2 separate regions of the Homo sapiens genome follow, and region 1 is linked to region 2. Evidence: promoter capture Hi-C in human tissues and cell types (Jung and others, 2019). All regions are on one chromosome and are shown on one strand. The core of a region is centred on a gene start or on the middle of the fragment in contact, and the rest is flanking DNA. Distances in the headings are between cores, read along the strand shown. Region 1 has its middle 8.6 kb from the start of TEX101. Region 2 holds the start of XRCC1 (X-ray repair cross complementing 1).

What was found. Contacts are between HindIII fragments. The study calls those that stand out against the background at their distance.
Region 1: a contact is called between a fragment that was not itself captured here and the fragment with the promoter of XRCC1 in region 2, in 1 of the 25 tissues and cell types used here (adrenal gland).

What each region holds. Positions count from the first base shown.
Region 1 is chr19:43,422,107-43,424,806 of GRCh38, forward strand. No RefSeq gene overlaps it. Among named protein-coding and RNA genes, the nearest start is that of TEX101, 8.6 kb to the left of the region's middle. The HindIII fragment of the contact is 7,747 bases long and covers 1-2,700 here.
Region 2 is chr19:43,574,094-43,576,793 of GRCh38, forward strand. XRCC1 (X-ray repair cross complementing 1) reads right to left here and starts at 1,434. Exons shown (of 17, transcript NM_006297.3): 1 at 1,315-1,434; 2 at 817-909. The coding sequence starts at 1,365. It overlaps PINLYP (phospholipase A2 inhibitor and LY6/PLAUR domain containing), which reads left to right and starts at 1,708. Exons shown (of 6, transcript NM_001193621.3): 1 at 1,708-2,700. RefSeq lists a silencer at 1,388-1,547 and enhancers at 1,648-1,807, 1,808-2,334, 2,335-2,700. The HindIII fragment of the contact is 26,650 bases long and covers 1-2,700 here.

The DNA.
Region 1 (2,700 bases), core at 117-2,616, 150 kb before region 2:
CTCCTCCCTAGATGATAGAGCATGACCCTGTCTCAGAGACAGAGAGAAAGAAAAAGGAAGAAAGGAAGAAAAAGAAAGAGAGAAAGAAAGGAAGGAAGGAAGGAAGGAAGGAAAGAAAGAAAGAGAAAGAAAGAAAGAAAAGAAAAGAGAGGAAAGAAAGAGAAAGAAAAGGAAGGAGTGACAATGCCAAATTCTGGAGAGGAATTGAGAAACTAGATCTCTCATATATTGCTGTAAGAATGTGAAATGGTGCACCCACTCTGGAAAATAGTTTGGCCATTTATTTAAAAACTAAACACACACTTACCATCTACCCAGCAGTCATACTGCTGAGCGTTCATCCACAAGAAATGGAAACTTAAGTCAACACAAAATCATGTATGTGCTTGTTCTTAGCAGCTTTATTTGTAATAGCCCAAAATGAAAACAACCAAAATGTCTTACAGTAGGTGAATGTTAAACTCCACAATAGAAAGAAACAAACTATTTATACACACAGAAACTTGGCTGGATCTCAATGGCATTATGCTGAGTGGAAAAAAGTCCATCTCAAAGGTCATATATGTACTATATGAATCCATGTATATAATATTCTTGAAATGGCAAAATCATAGCAATAGAGATGTATTTTATTTAACTGAATGGTATATCCAAAATATTACCATTAAACATGTAATCAATACAAATTTTAATGAGCTATCTTACATTCTTTTTTATACTAAGTCTTCAAAATGTGGTGTGTATTTCACAATCATGATACATCTTAATTTGGACTTGTTACATTTCAAGCATTCAGTATCCACATGTGGCTACTATATGATATAGTGGCTACTGTATTGTACAGCACAGATCTAAATAACATAAAATGCCTCTTCAAATGGATGGCTCTTTTTTATCGTGATGTTTATTTTATTATTGAGTTTTGAGTATGTTTCATATTTGCATATTACAAATGCAAATTCCTTAACAGGTATATCATTTTAAAATATTTTCTTCTACTCTGCCTTGTCCTTTTCTTCTCTTAGTGTCTTTCACAGAGCACGGTTTTTTTTGTTTGTTTGTTTGTTTTTGAGACGGAGTCTAGCTCTGTCGCCCAGGCTGGAGTGCAGTGGCGCGATCTCGGCTCACTGCAACCCTCACCTCCCGGGTTCAAGCAGTTCTCCTCCCTCTGCCTCCTGAGTAGCTGGGACTACAGGCTTACACTGCCATACCAGGCTAATTTTTTGTATTTTAGTAGAGATGGGGTTTCACTGTGTTGTCCAGGCTGGTCTCGAACTCCTGAGCTCAGGCAATCCACCTGCCTTGGCCTCCCAAAGTGCTGGGATTATAGGCATGAGCCACCGCACCCAGCAGAGCATGGGTTTTTAATTTAATGAAGTCCAATTTATCAACTTTATGAAATATGCTTTTAGTATTATATATTATACATTAGCCAAGTTTGTTATTGCTTGTTTGTTTGTTGTTGTTGTTGTCACTGCTATTCTAAGTCGTTTGCATTTCCAAATGAATTTTAGAATCATCTTGTCAATTACTACAAAAATCCTGCAAGGATTTTGATTGGGATTGTTTGAGGAGAATTGACATCTTAACGTTAAGGAAACAGGAGCATAGGAGAGCCAGGGTGACACCATTTTAAAATCAACCCTGTCGTAAAACTAGCAAGGTACGCTCTTTGCCAATCACAACCCACGGTCATAAGATGTTTACAGCTAAAGAAGCAGTTTATTAATGCCTGCAAGGACAAACTCCTGTGACAGAAGAATGTCCAGATGTCCCAATATCACATAACAATATATACTTTCAAGACAGAGTCATGCTTTGGTGTACTTATGCACTAAAATGCCAAGAATAACTTTTATTTATTTATTTATTTATTTATTTATTTATTATTTTTGGAGATGGGGTCTCGCTCTGTCACCCAGGCTGGAGCGCAGTGACATGATCTCAGTTCACTGCAACTTCTGCCTCCCCGGCTCAAGCAATCCTCCCACCTCCCACCCCCACCCTCCAGTAGCTGGGACTACAGGCGAGAGCCACCACACCTCACTAATTTTTGTATTTTTTTTGTAGAGACAGGACCGCACCGTGTTGCCCAGGCTGGTCTCAAACTCCTGGGCTCAAGCGATCCTCCCACCTTGGCCTCCCAAAGTGCTGGGATTACAAGCATGGTCCACTGCACCTGGCAGATAACTTTCCTTAAATCAGCAAAATAATAAATTTTGTCATGCTGTCAGCCCACTCACACATAGACATAACTTAGCTTAGCTTTTATATAGATAAGACCCCTGTATAAGAAGAGTTTTTAAAAAAGGACAATGCGGCCGGGTGCGGTGGCTCACGCCTGTAATCCCAGCACTTTAGGAGACTGAGGCGGGCAGACCACGTGAGGTCAGAAGTTCAAGACCAGCCTGACCAACATGGAGAAACCCGGTCTCTACTAAAAATACAAAATCAGCCGGGCGTGGTGGCGCATGCCTATAATCCCAGCTACTCGAGAGGCTGAGGCAGGAGAATCGCTTGAATCTGGGAGGCAGAGTTTGTGGTAAGCCGAGATCGCGCCATTGCACTCCAGCCTGGGCAACAAGAGTGAAACTCTGTCTCAAAAAATAATAATAATAATTTTTAAAAAGACAGCGCATTCTTTCTCTTGCTTTCTGAGGCAACCCTACTGTGTAACTAATGAGCAACTCTGTTGCCACC
Region 2 (2,700 bases), core at 184-2,683:
TTTTGGGGGTCTCACTCTGGTGCCCAGGCTGGAGTGCAGTGGCACAATCTCAGCTCACTGCAGCCTCCATCTCCTGGGCTCAAGCAATTCTCTCACCTCAGACTCGCCAGTAGCTGGGATTGCAGGTGCACACCACCATACTCAGCTAATCTATAAAATTTTGGTAGAGATGACATCTTACTGTATTGCCCAGGCTGGTCTCAAACTCCTGGGCTCATGCAATACTCCAGCTTCGGCCTCCCAAAGTGATGGGATTACAGGTGTGAACCACCATACCTGGCTATTATTCTTTAAAAAAAATTATTTATTTTAATAAAAATAGAGACAGGGTCTTGATATGTTGCCCAGGCTGGTCTGGAACTCCTGAGCTCAAGCAATCCTCCCATCTCAGGCTCTGAAAGTGCTGGGTTTACAGGCATGAGCCACGGCATCCGGCCAGTTTCCCCTTCTTTAAAGTGGAGTTGATTGGCTTAGACGACCTTCCTGGACACCTTCCAGCCCTGAGCCCACTGGCTGCAGGAGGCAGAGTACGTGGCAATGATTCATTTTGTTCCAGCTGAGGAAACTGGAACCCAGAAAGTAGATGCCACCTGCCCAGGACCACACACTGATTCCTGTGGTCATCCTGGACTTAATCCTTGGGTCTCCTTTCCTCTCTGCTGAGGGGCACAGGGATTATGCTGCCCATTTTCCGAGTAAGGAAGCTGAGGCCCAGCAAAGAAAGTGACTAAACCCACTGCCAGTTGGCTCAGGAGCAGAATCTGGAACCCCGGACTCCAGACTCCTAGTGAGGAGGAGGTGGGGTGGCAGGATCACCTGTAGGACCACAGAGATGGTCTTCTCGCCTGCCTTGGCTGCCCGCCATTTTCGGTAAGTGTCTGCCTTGAGAAGATTTTCTGCACAGTGAGTCTGGAAACAACAGTGGGAGAGGAGAATTAGGGCACAGAGATGACAGCTAGGCCTCCAGCTCTCAGATGATTCCTTTGAGTCCTCCCAAGGCCTCTACGACCCCCAGATTTAAGCTCTCCCGTTAATCCCCCGACACTCTGCCTGGAGTTTCCCCTACAACACTTTCCCGTGGAAGTTCACCTATGGGCTCTCCAAGAAAGCTTCCCTATTCCTCCTTTTCTCTCCGGAAGTTCCCTAGACGCCGGAACGTCCCTAATTCAACATCTCTCCACAATTCACTTTTAGCCTCCTGGAAATCCCCCCATGACTCTCCTTAGACTTCCAAGAGAACCCCAAAAGCTCTTTTAAGAGCTATCCTCATTAATTCCCTCACGTCTTCCAACCTCCCCCATGCAGGTCCCTCACCGAGTCCTGGCTGCTGCAGGACACGACATGGCGGAGGCGGATCTCCGGCATGTCAACGTCGTGGGCTTCGCCTGGCCAGAAGGATGAGGTAGAGTATGGGGTCCGAGGGGCAGGGAGAGTGGGAGGGGGCGGGGTGCGCCCTGCGCTGGCTAAAGTGCGCAAGCGCGCGAGGCTCGGGCCTTTCAAACCCCGGCGCGCCGGCGCCGGCGTCGACACTGCGCAAGCCCAGTCGCGCCTCTCCAGAGCGGGAAGAGCGCTGCGTTCCTTAGCAACGAGCGTTTCCTCCAGCCCCGCCTCCCTCCGCCACACACAACCCCGCTCTAGCCTCGCCTCCCAATGACGTCCGAACCCTGCTTTCTGGGAGCCTAGCAACAGAAGCGACCTCCGGGATTGGTGTCTGGAAGAAATTCGCCTTTCTCATTGCACGATGGAGTTACCGCCCACACTGAAGCCGAGAAAGCAAATCTTTTTGCTGTATTATTATTTATTTTATTTTTTAAAAATTTTTTGTTGAGACAGGGTCTTGCTCTCTCACCCAGGATGGAGTGCAGTGGCACGATCTCGGCTTTCTGCAACCCCTGTCTCCTGGGGCCAAGGGATCCTCCCACTTCAGCCTCCTAAGTAGCTGGGATTACACGCACGCGCCACCACATTCGGCTAATTTTTGTATTTTTTGTGGAGACATGGGGTGAGAGGGCGGCGGGTCTTGCCATGTTGCCCAGACTGGTCTCGAACTCCTCAGCTCAAGCGATCCACCTGCCTCGGCCTCTCAAAGTGCTGGAACTACAGGCGTGAGCGACTGCGCTGGGCTAGGACAGCAAATCTGAGTGAATTTTCGTAGTTTCGTAGGGAACCTGGATTCTACGCAACAGGATCTCTTCAAATGGCTCAGGCGGCTGCACTCTTCTCTCTGTCCCCTTGCCACACACACACACACGCACATATACATACATACGCGCGCGCGCACGCGCGAAAAAAATTAGCAGATCTCTTTCAGCCTTATGCCTGAGGCCAAAAGAGAAGGGTTCTGCGTCCTAAATATAACACAAAGCATGTGCCCAACCCCCACCACACACACACACACACACCCCTATCCTGGAGTTCTTCCACAAAAGCCTCAGTTTCCCAATATGTGGACTGTGGGCATCTGTCTTTTACTACGCCCGCCTATGACTGCCGACAGACATCCCTCTGTTCATTCGGTGCCTTGGAGACCCAAGGGTGCAGCCCTGGGTGGGGTCGCAGCTGGAGACAGCCCAAACACACAAGGAGTGTGAGCCGAGCACATGAAGAGAGGGGAAGGGAGACAAGGCACCCCGCACCCGCAGGACCAGCCTGGACATGCTGGGTGCTCCAAGGTGGGGCCCTACCCACACTGGGTGCTTC